Regions from separate parts of the Homo sapiens genome. Here all the other regions are linked to region 5. Evidence: promoter capture Hi-C in human tissues and cell types (Jung and others, 2019). All regions are on one chromosome and are shown on one strand. The core of a region is centred on a gene start or on the middle of the fragment in contact, and the rest is flanking DNA. Distances in the headings are between cores, read along the strand shown. Region 1 overlaps PLCB1 (phospholipase C beta 1). Region 2 overlaps PLCB1 (phospholipase C beta 1). Region 3 overlaps PLCB1 (phospholipase C beta 1). Region 4 overlaps PLCB1 (phospholipase C beta 1). Region 5 holds the start of HAO1 (hydroxyacid oxidase 1).

Region 1 (2,700 bases), core at 165-2,664, 650 kb before region 5:
TTTCTTTCACTCTTTGGAATGACATGAAGTCCCCTTTTGTATAAGCTGCTGTATATCATTGTTGGAATCCCCCTAGCTTGGGTCATTATGATATTACATAAAGAAAGCAAGAGTCAAATGGCCACACACCCTCCTAACAGGGTCCCTAGGCAGGCTGCATTAAGAACAGTGCTGTACATGATCTGATAATTGTTTTAACTCCTACTAATTAATAATAACCCAACTCATTTAGTATGAGTCCTAGGAGAATTCTCTGTTGGTACTGCTCAAAGCTAAGTAGATTCTACACCATCTCCCTTTTTGAGATCATATATATATATATATTTTTTAATTGATAGTGCTGGCGTTAGTTTTAGACAATAGCAAAGCAGATCATTTTTGCCCTTACAATTTTGGCACAATTACACAAACCTAATAACATTTATGGTGGGTAAAAGTACTTTCCCCTACTACAGGATATTTTTAGGCCTTCAAATTTAATAAAAATATCATTGTTATACAGCTTATGCCACCAGCTCATCCCCCATACTTTCAAACTAAAACTTTTTAAACTAAAATGCGAGGCTAGGAATTTCTATCTCGCAGATTCCATGGTGTACTTACTTGAGGGCCCCAGCTTTAGTAGCTCAGATTTTAGAATTAATACCATGGTTCTGGGTTTTGAAATTGAAATGTGTGAGCCTAAACACAAAGGTGTGGAGGGGCAAGGGTAAAACGTCACTAACAGAAATATGATGTACATTTATGAGAATCTTAAATTTTCTGTAATCTAATTTGCATCAAAATGGATTTTGCAGAAAATGTGAAAAGGGGATTCTCTAATCTGCGAATTTAACATTCCAAGATTTTTTTCCTATTTGTGAGTGACCACTAAGGTCTATAGCGGGTTGCTACTTGTCACTGTGAATATCCAAGCTTTATCAGGCCGGCCAATGTAAGGGACGTAATTATCAAGCCTGGCTCTGCCACAGGTCCAGGATTTGCTTTTAAATGCAAATACGTTTTTCCCTACTTACCATGTTGATAACTCTGCTACCATCACTAAACAGTTTTGTTTCTTTGTGAAAAATGTCCCTGGATAGAAAGCCAAAGGCTAGAGTCGGTGACGTGATCCAGAAAGATGACGCTTTTTAGGCAAAAAAAAAAACCATAATAAATAAATAAAAAAGAAAAAGAAGAAGTGTCAGAAGAATTAGAGAGAAAATCTCAATATTAGTAGTTACTTAGGTCTGTGACAGGAATAAGTCAACCATATACTCTAAGCAGGGAAAATAAAATGCTAATGGGATATTTGAGGATGAAACTCATCTTTTGCCATATCAAGGGCATGTCAACTCTGTAGGTCACATTGCTTTTCCGAAAGTCAGATAATGGAACCAATATAACAAAACATCTTTGACCCAGTTTAATTGATGTGATTAATCAAGGAGGCTTGCTTATCCACTCAGCTCTGCATGCATTCATTCAGCGAGCATTTATTGAATCTGGGGTAATGAGCTGGGCACTGGAGTAGATTGGAATTCAATGTCAAACAAAACTCTTCTGAAGGAGGTTTTACAATCTAACGGGAAAAATAAAAATATGAAAAACCACTGAGGGGTATTAATGAAGTGTCAAATATACATAGAGAAGAAGCAAAGCGCTTCATTGGAGAAGAGGTGAAAAGATTTCATGGAGATAGTGTCTACATTTGAGTTTATAAAAAGATACTATTTGGTCACTTGGAGCTGGCAAGGAGCAGAGACCACCTCACATTTAGGAGACAGTGGAAGCAATGCTAAAGAAGCTCATTAGCATGAGGCCCTAGAGAAGAGGGACTTAGCTGAACTTGTGGTTCTAGAATATGACATCTCAGCTCAGACTTGGAAAAAGAAAAAGCATCACGTCAAGAGGGGTAAAAACGTGATATATTCTAAAAAGAGTTAATAACGTGATCAAAGACAGGGAGACATGAACCGATATGGTAGACCAGGAACTGGAAGCTGTTTAGTATTATTGGAGTGAAATGTGTGTGGAGTAGATCATGAAAGAAGAGTTTCTAGTTCTTTCCAACATCTTCTCATTTCAAACAATTCTTCTAGAAGCTATTCAAGAAGTCTGAGCCAAACTGTGACCTCTTCTGAGCTGTGCACAATTAAGGGTCAGTGAACTGGAGTCTTGGCAATGGAGTCTGCCTCTGCCATCAGACCGCAGCTTATGGGACAGCATGGTGGCTCTGGCTCCAGGACATGCACAGAGAAAGTCTTACCTCTGGCAGGTAAGGAATGTCTGAAAAGACCTAGTTCAGCACCTAGGACATGCATCTAGAAATGGACCTAGAGCTATAATACTGAGAGTCTTGGAAGCATTTTGCCCCCCAAAAGTAAGCCGAAGCTCCAAGGATCACAATGAGACCCTGGCCATGGCATGGGCAAGAGCACCCAATGAGGGCAGTGCAAGGGTGATCCCTTCTGAGGGTAAGCAGTAAAAGACTAATGATTTCTTGGGATCATGTTGGGCTAAAGAGAATCTTGAGGGCCAGGCGTGGTGGCTCACCCCTGTGATCCCAGCACTTTTGGAGGCTGAGGCAGGGGGATCACAAGGTCAGGAGATCAAGACCAGCCTGACCAACATGGTGAAACATCATCTCTATTAAAAATACAAAAATTAGTCAGGTGTGGTGGCGGGCGCCTATAGTCCCAGCTACTAAGGAGGCTGAGG
Region 2 (2,700 bases), core at 63-2,562, 670 kb before region 5:
AGGGAGTTGGGTTAAGCAGTGAAACAACCATTGTTGCTATGCCACCCTTCCTCCATCCAATGGACGGCAAAGATGAGGGCTTGAGAGCTGCCTTCTTCAAAGCTGACTTGTGGATCTTTATGTCATAGAATCCCAGGAAAACTCTGAACATTTACTGAAGCGACCTCTCCTACAATAATTGATTCACCTATATGCAAATGAATGTTCCAGGAGCTCTACCAATACCATAAACATACTTTTTCATTTGTGTTTTTTATTCATTCAACAAACTTTATGCCTTTATTGCCATTTTCTATACCAGGGTTATGTTTATGAATGTGGCACAGTCTTTGCCCTCAAGCTTCTAATGATCTGGTAGAAGAGGAAAATACGTAGATCCTTTTAGGACAAAGGGATAAATGCTTTTGGAGCACAGAGAAAGGCCAACTAACTGTTTTTAAGGAAGTTACAAACTTCCTTAAAAGCTAGTTGGTTTTTCAACAGAGAAAACTTGAGGTGAATATATCTCTAGTTTGTTTTATTTATCCTTTTAGAGACAGAATCTCCCTCCATCATCCAAGCTGGAGTACAGTGGCACCATCACAGCTCACTGTAGACTCTATCCCCCGGGCTCAAGCAATCTTCCTGCCTCAGCCTCCCGAGTAGCTAGGACTGCAGGCATGAACCACCATGCCCAGCTAATACGTCTCTTAAAAGTTTGCAGATATAGAAACAGTGCCAAGGGAATGTTCTCAAACTACCACTGGAAATACTAAGAGAATTGATTGAAGAGTCCCTGAATGTTTCCTGCACGGTCAATAAAACTCTGTAAACTATTTCATCAATAAAATGTTTTTTAGTTGATATTACTAGGCCTCCTGGTTATCCTAGTCCTTATAAAGAAATTGTTTTTATAGGCTCAAGAAGTAAAAAACATGATATAGCCATGTTTTTAGAACTGAAAGGACCTTTTTATTATTAAAATAAAGTCATAATACAGGCTTCTTACATTTTAAGGTAATCAACCCAGACTGACTAGGTAACTTGATGTGAATGAACTGACTATAGTGAAGCCTTTTTTGGTGATCCCTTTATTAACAATTACTGATGTCGTTTTAATTTTAAACCTTACTTAAGAATTTTTCAACACTTAGGCTTAAGCTTATCAAAACCAAAGTATTTCCCTGAATTTTAAAACTAAGAATTAAAGAAGATGGTGCCCAATGGCACCATTTTAGTTTCTTGTATACATGTTTTCTTAGCCTTCAAAACACAATATTTTTTTCCTTAAAATAGAATTTTACATTCACAAAGAGCTTGGCACATATATAGGTGTCAACCTCTATCCCACTTCATCATTTCATCCTTACCTTCTATAAATAAAAAGTAAAATAAATAAAAGTAAAATTTTAAGTATAAATTTCCTTACTAATATAAATCCTAGGTTGATTTTCCTAGAAAACCTGAAAAGAGATACATTTCTTAGATATTTATAGTTTACCATTTATTTAAGATTTTTCTTTAAATTAGCAAATTTCATACATTAAAATATGTTTATTTAAAATAAAACTTCTCATCATTATCATAATGAGCTTGGACCCTTACCTCACACTATATGCAAAAATCAACTTGAAATTTATCATAGACCTAAATGTAAGAGCTAAAACTCTAAAGATCTTAGAAGAAAACCTAGGTATAAGTCATTGAGATCTTGGGTTAGGCAATGGTTTCTTACATAACCAAGAGGACAAGTAACAAAATAAAATATAGATAAATTGAACTTTATAAAAAACAAAAACTTCGTGCTACAAAGGACACTATCAAGAAGGTAAAAAGACAACAAAGAGAATGGGAGAAAATATTTATGAATTCTATCTGAAAGGAATTTATCAAATAAACTGCTGGTGGGAAGGTAAAATGTCATAGCCAATTTGGAAAACAGTTTGCAACTCCTTAAGATGTTAAACACAGCCATCATATGACCCAGCAATTACATTCTTAGGTATATACCTACGAGAAATGAAAACATGTCCACACAAAAGCTTATACCTGAAAGTTCATAGCAGCATTTTTCATAATAGCCAAAAAATAAAAACAATCCAAATGTCTATCAACTGATGAATGGAAAATCAAATATGGTATATACATGCAATTGAGTAATATTTGACAATTAACAGCAATGAAGTACTGTTATATGCTACAACATGGATTAACCTTGAAAACATTATGCTAAGTGAAAGAAGCCAGTCACTACATACCAGGTATTAGGTTGGTGCAAAAGTGATTGCAGTTTTGGCCATTACTTTCACAAGCAAAAACATCAATTACTTTTGCACCAACATAATTTTATATGATTCCATTTATATGAAATTTCTAGAATAGTTAAACACATAGAGACAGAAAGGTAAATGGTTACCAGGGTCTGGGAAGAGGAAGGAGGGAAGAATGCTTATTAATGGGTAGGGGGTTTCTTTTTGGAGTGATGAAAACATTCCAAAATTATATACTGATGCTCATTTTACATCTATGAATATACTAAATATACTAAAAACCACTGAATTGTTTACATTAGAAGGGTTAATTTATTGGTGTGCAAATACAGATATTCACCCTAAAGTACCTGTGCACCCTTTGTGATGTGTATACCATGCTTTCAAAAAAGTTGCTTCAGAACACATGTATGAAGCTGGCCATGGTGGCTGACACCTGTAGGTGGCTGAC
Region 3 (2,700 bases), core at 88-2,587, 520 kb before region 5:
CTTTTCCTCGGAGATGAGTAGACAGATTTCTGTAAATTTAGCTGCGTAAGTGTTTCTCGGTTCATGTTATAACCTATTGTTTTTCTACAAAAATGGATATGAATAAGTACCACCATCACTTTCTCCCCCACAAACCAATCAGATTCCTCAGAAACTTTGCTAAAACCCAGCTTTTAAATTGTCTAATGGCATCAGTATCACCCTGCACCTCTATGTAAAAGTCTGACAAGCAATTCACATTTTATTCTTCATGGCTTTTAATTCTATTGAAATAGGATTTGAACATTTCAAAGTGTAGACACCATGTTATTAGAGTATTTTATGGAGTGTCAAGCTCTGTACAAACATTATTTCATTCATCTGCATGATTTCCTTTCTGGAGTGGGTGGTGTGTTATTATTACTCTTGTTAAGTGGGATAAATTAGCTTGGAAGGTCAGCTTCTTTACTTTAAAGGAAGAACTTACTTAAGAGTCCAGAATGACAACCTCAAATGTCTTTCATCCCAGACAGGTAATGTAAATAAGGTAAGCAGGCCAAATTGAATATGCGATAAAAATGGATTTTGAAAAATTGGGAAATATATGCCCCCAAGTCTCTGTTTCATCTAAGGACGTTGATGTAGCATAGTGGTTAAGAGTGAAGGCCTGGGCAATTTCTTGTTGCAAAGAAGTATGCTTTCTCTTGAAATCAGCACATTTAGGCCTATGGGGAAGCTTCCTTTTTCTACCCATTAAGAAAGGGAAACATAATTTGTTGAAAGATAAAGAACCTAGGACATTAGAATTTTATGATTAAGATGGATGAGGAGGGAATGATCACTTACTGAGATGAAATATTCATGTACTCATTCAAAAAATATTGATTGATCATGAGAGATGAAATATACAAACGGACAATGGCCAGACAATATATGACAACAGAATTCTGAGCACCACCTCTGCAGCAACCAGCTGGAAGCCAAACCACAACCTCTACAGCAACTGGCCCCAACAGTCACGATACAGTCAATGACTGCCAGCTTCCCTATTCTTGGCTCCCTCCTTTCAACTCAGAATCAACCGGAGGAAGCAAGATCTGCTTCCCAAACCAACCACATCAGATGTTCACATCTAGTTAGCTCAACTCCAGCTTCCTCATGCCACAGCGTACCTGGAACCTGCTCTTTGTTTCACTCTAAAGGTTTCCTATCTTTCTGTGTTCCTTTAAGTCTGTGCCAAATGCAACTGATAGTGGTTGATTCTCTTGCAAACTCTAAATAAATCACCTCTGTTCTTGTTCATGTGATCTTCATTTATTTTCACAAGCATATTTAAAAATAACTTTATAAAGTGATCTGGTAAGAGCACAGAGAGGGAAATTCCACAGAGGGTAAAGGCAATGAGACTTGTGCAGGAGACAGCATGCCAGGAGTAGTAAAGGTGGCTGAGGGTGCCTGGAAGGCAAGATGGTGTGTACGTGTGTGTGTGTGTGTGTGTGTGTGTGTGTGTGCGCGCACACATTAGGGGTATAAGTAGGAGATGACTTTGAATAAAGAGACCAGGAATATCATGCAGTTCATTACTTGACAAACTTGGAATTCTCTATCCTAGTAATGGGCAATAATAAAAATAATTAAATAGACGACTGATTAAAATAAGATTTTAATAGGATTGAACTTGGATTTTCTGAAGTGTTACTCTAGCAGTGTGATGGAAGCTGGATGGAAGGTGGGCAATTTAGGAAATCGTTGCTGCAGGCCTAAACATTGGCAGTGGGGAGAGAAGTGAGGACAAAATAAGGAGATGAGAAAGATGTTAAGGACACACAACTGGCATTACGCTGGGTGAAGACAAGCAATGAACTGAGAGTCACTCTGGGTTTGTGGGTGGCATTGTTCATGGAATAACAATAATGAATGATGACTGGTAAGTGGTGGAGGTGGGACAGGAGGCCAAGATGACCCCTGCAAAGCTCATGTTACTCCCATTTGTATGCACCATGTCCCAGGTAGAGAGGGGACAGTGCTTCACACTTGAACTTGCTTCCAGCTGAGTCTCTTACACTTACAAAAAATAGGTGGCCTCATTAGGTAGCCCTTTTGCAGGTGGCATATAAAAATATGTTATCATATAAAAGTGCAGTTGGTTAAAAAATATAACTACCTCTAGAGAAGTCCATGTAAGATGATTTTGGTTAAAATGTGACTGACATGAAGAAATTTGCAGTAGACTCTTTATGTCCCAATCCAAAATTCATATGTTGAAATCCTAACCCCCAAGGTGATGATGTTCAGACATGGAGCCTTGGGGAAGTCATGAGGTCCTGAGGGTGATGCCCTCCCTCCTGAATGGCATTAGTGCCCTTATAAAAGAGGTCCCAGGGAGCTCTCTGGCCACTTCTCCCATGTGAGTTACAGTGAGAAGAAGGCTATCTGTGAGGTAGTGGGCTCTCACCAGACACCAAATCTGCCAGCACCTTGATCTTGGACTTCTCAGCCTCTAGAACTATGAGAAATTAATTTCTGATGTTAAAAATCTACCCAGTTTATGGTGTTTTGTTAAATCAGCCCAGGCTAAAGTGAAGGTAAAATGATTTTTGTTTCCTTTTTTATATGTGCTAAATCTATATTCTGTACATCTTAATTTTATATTGAAATTTATTTATTTTTCTCATAAAACTTGTGTTTATTAAAAGCAGGAAATACACCCTTTAAAAGACC
Region 4 (2,700 bases), core at 108-2,607, 730 kb before region 5:
TCCTGTTAAAATAATGCTATCCCTAGCTTGGAGATAATCTTTGCTGTCACAGCTGGCATCCTAGAGACTGTAGTGATTCAGAGTTAAGACAGACCTTCCAGAATCTCCATAAGAGATTTTTGAAATCCTTGGTCACTGTCCACTTCCTGGCAGGATTCCCTACTATGGTACATTTTTCAGCTTTTCTATTAAGGGTTAGGGTGGAAGGTCCATCCCTCACTTAATCTGGTTTCCCTGTGGTTTGCTTTTTTTTTTTCTGCATTCGACCTATTTCCCTCCCACTTATCTGTTGTATCACATTGACTATTGACAAGACCCTGGATAATGCCGAAGTTAGGAGCCAAACGCCTGTGGCCTCTCTCCCTCCCAACACAGTACAACCTGCCAGGCAGTTTTGACTGAGCCAGAGTCCCCTCCACCCCACCCCACACGCACTGCAACCTGCTCCTAGACCCTGCTGACAAGGGGAAAGCTATACTAGCCAACAATTGTCAATGCTGTGTTCTGCTGGGAGGTCACATCTAGGGGGAAAGAAGCCATTCTCTGCTCTGTCCCAATAGCTCTCCCATGAAATGGCAAGGCACCTCTGAAAGGTGTGATGAAGGAAAGAAGTTTTAACAAGACTCAGCAGACTATGGGGTTGATGAGGCTACCAAGCTCACTTATCTATCCTGTGGACTGGCATTTGATTTTGCCTTTTACTGTTTATATTTTTCCTGTCTGGTTATTTTCTGAACAAAGGACATTTCAGCTGTGAGTAGACAGGGCTGTGACTTTCTGGCCAGAGCTGTGGGCCTGAGCAGACACTGAGGTCACTGAAATAAAGGAGAAAAGAAACAGAATTCCTAGGCCAGGCCTTTGCCTTTCCTCAGGCCCAGGCCCTGCCTTCTGGGAATAAAGGAAATGTAATAACGGAAAGGAAAGCAAAGGGAGTTGCCAAGTCAACCAATGAACAATAGATCCACAATGACGATCTTGAAAAATTTTTTTTTCATTCTTAGGCAATCTGAAATATTTCAGAGAAGTCTATGAACATACCAAACATGAAGTTAAGAAGAACTTGGAATGCACTCAGGGACGACAATGCCATTTTTCTGTAACCTTCCGCAGAGGTTAGAGAGTCAATAGGAGGAATTTAAATGAGATTTCGATCAATAAAATCCTAGAGTAGCTTTTCAGCAGCTTTTTCAGTGTAGTAACTTAATTAAGGCATGAAAGCATTGGCTACATCATATAGTTTTCCTCTGTTTTTGTCTTTTGGGAGAAAATTGATCTTATTTGTGTTGACTTTGTTGATTCACGTCGGTTCTGTTTCCTCAACTACTTTGTAGGTAATCTATATAAAATGACTTAAATGGATGCCACCTTAATTGTGAGGCAGATCTTTAAACTAGTCAGTATTTCCTTCAGAGGAGTGGTTTTTAAACTGAGTATCCTGAATATCCCTGGGTTTGGGCAGACATCCCTGCAGAGAATGGGGTAGGTCAGGAGGAGAAAGAGTGATAGGGCAACAGCCACCATCACCTGTACTCCAGGCTCCCCTCTATTCCACCAAGACAGCACCTTTAAAGCTTTTCCCTACACATTGGCCTTTCTCACGAGACTTTGTTAGAAGAAACAAACAAAGGGTGCTATGTCTAGGACCAGCTTGGAAACCACTGCTATAGACATCGATCACTAACTTCTAAATGGTCTGTGTTGCAACTTTTTTCTAAGCAAGTCCTGTTGGAGTGCCTAGGTGGATGTCTGGAGTAGCGGGACAAAGAAAACATGGTCTTGGTCCCAACATTGCCATTTCTGCAAACTGCCTCTTCTAATAAACTGACAGTTTGACTAAGCTAAATGGCTAAGTCCTTTGTAGACTGGAAATCTATGATTGGAGGCCACTGGCCAGGGCTTCGTGATTGGAAACAACGAAGACAATAACGTGATAGGTTGGCAGGAATGATGAGGCACAGCCTCTTTCCATTTTTTTTTCTCTCAATGCTCAGCAACTCTGACCTTACCCATCTTTCACTTTTGATTCCCTTAAGGCCATTTATAGAAAAGTGCTTGTCTTAGTTTGGGTTCTTCCAAAAACAGGATCTGAGACAAGGATTTGAGTGCAAGCACCTTTTTTGGGAGTTGACCCTATGAAACAACAGTAGAGAAGAGAAGTGAGACAAGAAGGAAAGGCAGCTAAGAAGGAGAAGGGTATCAGGCAGGTTACAGCTGTGGGCAGTTAGGGCTCAGTCTCACCGAGGAACTCTGGGAGAAAGCAGAGAACACACATCAGAACTTTGCAACCCAAGGGGCATGGAAGATAAGGTATTTATTCTTCAACTACTCCTGAGGCATGCAGTCCCTGGGAATTGTAGCCTGGCTGTGGATGGACTGATAGAAGGCCCTGAAGAGTTGCCAAGTGTGTAGGTGGCTGGGTTGGAACCATGATTGCCAAGGGACATGGGAATAGCACAGGTGTCTGCTACATTGCTGGTCTCATCCCATTTTACAGATGAAGAACCTGAAGCTCACACAAGTCAAGTCTCTTGCCTGAGGTTTACTGGCTTCATCATGACACTATGCCAGCCTATTTCTTTAATTAGGGCATGTTTGATCTTTCAAGGATGGAGAATAGAGATTATAATCATCACCATCATTAGTTTTTATAACTTCTACCTAGTAAAGCGAAATGGTGCTGGAAAAATATGATTCAAAAAA
Region 5 (2,700 bases), core at 92-2,591:
TTGCAGTAGAACCCAGAGAACATTATGCTAAGTGAAATAAGCCAGGCACAAAAGGGAAATTATTGCATTATTTCACTTATAGGTGGGATTTTGTTTTAAAAAAGACTTCAAATGCACAGAGCTAGAGAATGAAACAGTGAATACCACTAGTGGGAAGCAGGGAAGAGGAAAAGGGGTGATATAGGTCAAAGGATACAAAATAGTAGACACGTAGGATACATAAATCTACAACAGGGTCCCTAACCTTTTCGGCACCAGGGACAAGTTTTGTGGAATACAATTTTTCCATGGGCAGTGGGGGTAGGTGGATGGTTTTGGAATGAAACTGTTCCACCTCAGATCATCAGGCATTAGATTCTCATAAGGAGTGGCGCAACCTAGATCCCTCGCATGTGCAGTTCACAATAGGAGGCGGAGCTCAGTCTGTAAAGCTTGCTCACCGGCTGCTCACCTCCTGCTGTGCAGCTTGGTTCCTAACAGGCCACGGACCAGTACCAGTCCATGCTGGGGAGTTTGGGACCCCTGGTCTAGAGAGCAAACGTGCAAAATGAGGACTAAAGTTAATAAAATTGTATCATATTAGGAATTTTTGTTAAATAAGTTGATTTTAGCTGTTCTTGTCATACACACAAAAAAGTAATTACGGGTGAGATGATACATATATTATATTGGCCTCCCTACTGTAACCATTTTTCTGTGTATATGTATCTCATAATATCATGTTGTAAACCTCAAATATACAGAATGAATAAAACAATTAGCTGTCAATTTGGCCTTAATGTTCCATGTTAAAGCCAAATGTCTATGTTTGTAATCAGCTAAATTTTATATTGTGCAGAAGCCCTGAATTTCACGGATGCCCCATATTTCATGGATGCCCCGTTCAGTTCATAAGCTCTTGTTTACATGATTTGTGCATGATCCAAATGTGGAAAGAAAATGAGTGGGCAGCCTATTCTGGGTATCAAGCAAAGAGCACAGGCACAGACCATGTGCAATAAGCAGCCTTAGGCAAAACTGAACCAAGAGTGGTTTCATACAGGTATTCCTCTAAGTCTTTAATTTTTTACTTATTCCTTTCCCCTTTTTAATGTGATAGACACCTAATCACCTTCTGCTGCCTTCCCAACCTCAACTTTGGTGTTCTTTGGCAGATAGTGACTTCGGTGTTCTTTGGCAGATAGCCTACAAATGAAATTTCAAAGGCTAAGCATATAATGTTTGCTCACTTGATGTAAGCAACAGAGAACTAAATCTGAACTTTGGCAAAAGTCTATTAATAATTGACAAATAACAGAACAGTGAGGATGTAGAAAGCAATACATTAAAAAAAAAAAAACAACGAACTCCATCTGGGATAGCAATAACCTGTGAAAATGCTCCCCCGGCTAATTTGTATCAATGATTATGAACAACATGCTAAATCAGTACTTCCAAAGTCTATATATGACTATTACAGGTCTGGGGCAAATGATGAAGAAACTTTGGCTGATAATATTGCAGCATTTTCCAGGTAAGAAAATTTATTTTTTAAAATCATGTTTTAAAATTACACAAAGACCGTACCAAAATAAGATCTCCTAGTTTTACGTTGGTGGTGTGTAATTATTTGTTCAGATTTGTGCTTAGTAGAGAGGGAAAAGTTCTTGGGGCTGTAAGAAATCTTGGGCCTTTAAATTGTTAAAAAATATTCCAAGCCTGTGAATCTTGAGGAACTGACTGCAAAAGCCAAACCTATGTTACTTCACTTGGAAATATGACAACAATTAATTTAACTACATGTAAAAATAGCGATAAATTCGGATGACTTTTCTTTTTCTTAGTATGACAGTAAATGCTTATGTTCATGGTGTAGGAAACAGCATTAAATGCCAGATAACCATCTTATCCGGATGAACCAGACTGGATTGTTGGCTCAAATGTTTTCTTCCTGCTGGCTTTTCGTGTTATCATTCATTTTGATTACTGTTGTCTAAACTTTCACTTTAGATTTCAATTTGTCTATGCAGCATTAATCTTTCAACTTTGCTGTTTCATCTCTCCTTCAAAGCACTTCATCTCTCTTCCCAAATTAGTTTTCCTTTGACTTTCATATTTCAAAGCACAAGATGGTGGGTGACATGGTTTATGTTTTCTGTTTGTAATAAAAACAAGAAATAAAATCATTTCAAAGGGTTTTTTTTTATAGCAGTTACAAAAATGGTTTATTTGCTGGAGCAAGAGAGGAGTGCCTTCACTACACTACACTCAGTCTCATCCATCTAACATTATGGCTGTTAGTAAAGGCAATCGGTATTGTGGGTACTCATTGATGGTGATAAAGACAAAAAGGCAGAAAATATGCAGGGGGAGAGAATTAGCCTTCCTCCCTGATTTCTTCTTTAGTCTACAACAAAATCACTCAAAATCAGTTTTCCATATTTAAATTAGGAGAAATAAAATTATCCTGGCCAAGGTGGTCTCTGGTAGGCAGCACTGATTCACCCACAAATCCATGTAGAAGACTGAAAATGGCAATGGGGTGAAGGATACGGCCTCTCCCCAACCCTTTCAAGCCTTGACTTTGTCTCAGGTTTTGCCTGGAACCCAAATGAGCTCAACAAATGCCAGGGAAGTCATGGGAAGGGAAGTTGACTGAGAGTAGAGGGGCTTAAAATTCTGCATCATTATTTACTATTTTGGACTCATTTAAAAGTTTCT

The links. The method cuts DNA at HindIII sites, captures the fragments that hold promoters and counts their contacts. A contact is called where the count stands out against the background at its distance.
Region 1: a fragment that was not itself captured here is called in contact with the fragment with the promoter of HAO1 in region 5 in 2 of the 25 tissues and cell types used here (H1 embryonic stem cells and stomach).
Region 2: a contact is called between a fragment that was not itself captured here and the fragment with the promoter of HAO1 in region 5, in 2 of the 25 tissues and cell types used here (mesendoderm cells and small bowel).
Region 3: a fragment that was not itself captured here is called in contact with the fragment with the promoter of HAO1 in region 5 in 2 of the 25 tissues and cell types used here (H1 embryonic stem cells and dorsolateral prefrontal cortex).
Region 4: a fragment that was not itself captured here is called in contact with the fragment with the promoter of HAO1 in region 5 in 4 of the 25 tissues and cell types used here (lymphoblastoid cells, mesendoderm cells, spleen and 1 more).

What each region holds. Positions count from the first base shown.
Region 1 is chr20:8,584,804-8,587,503 of GRCh38, reverse strand. All of the region lies in intron 3 of PLCB1 (phospholipase C beta 1), which reads right to left. Among named protein-coding and RNA genes, the nearest start is that of RNU105B, 250 kb to the left of the region's middle. The HindIII fragment of the contact is 7,424 bases long and covers 1-2,700 here.
Region 2 is chr20:8,609,778-8,612,477 of GRCh38, reverse strand. All of the region lies in intron 3 of PLCB1 (phospholipase C beta 1), which reads right to left. Among named protein-coding and RNA genes, the nearest start is that of RNU105B, 220 kb to the left of the region's middle. The HindIII fragment of the contact is 3,614 bases long and covers 1-2,700 here.
Region 3 is chr20:8,456,505-8,459,204 of GRCh38, reverse strand. The region is part of intron 3 of PLCB1 (phospholipase C beta 1); the gene reads right to left. LOC124900459 (a long non-coding RNA gene) reads right to left here. Exons shown (of 2, transcript XR_007067518.1): 2 at 1-2,700. Among named protein-coding and RNA genes, the nearest start is that of PLCB1-IT1, 210 kb to the right of the region's middle. The HindIII fragment of the contact is 3,506 bases long and covers 1-2,700 here.
Region 4 is chr20:8,665,699-8,668,398 of GRCh38, reverse strand. All of the region lies in intron 9 of PLCB1 (phospholipase C beta 1), which reads right to left. Among named protein-coding and RNA genes, the nearest start is that of RNU105B, 160 kb to the left of the region's middle. The HindIII fragment of the contact is 3,580 bases long and covers 1-2,700 here.
Region 5 is chr20:7,939,099-7,941,798 of GRCh38, reverse strand. HAO1 (hydroxyacid oxidase 1) reads left to right here and starts at 1,341. Exons shown (of 8, transcript NM_017545.3): 1 at 1,341-1,513. The coding sequence starts at 1,377. The HindIII fragment of the contact is 11,188 bases long and covers 1-2,700 here.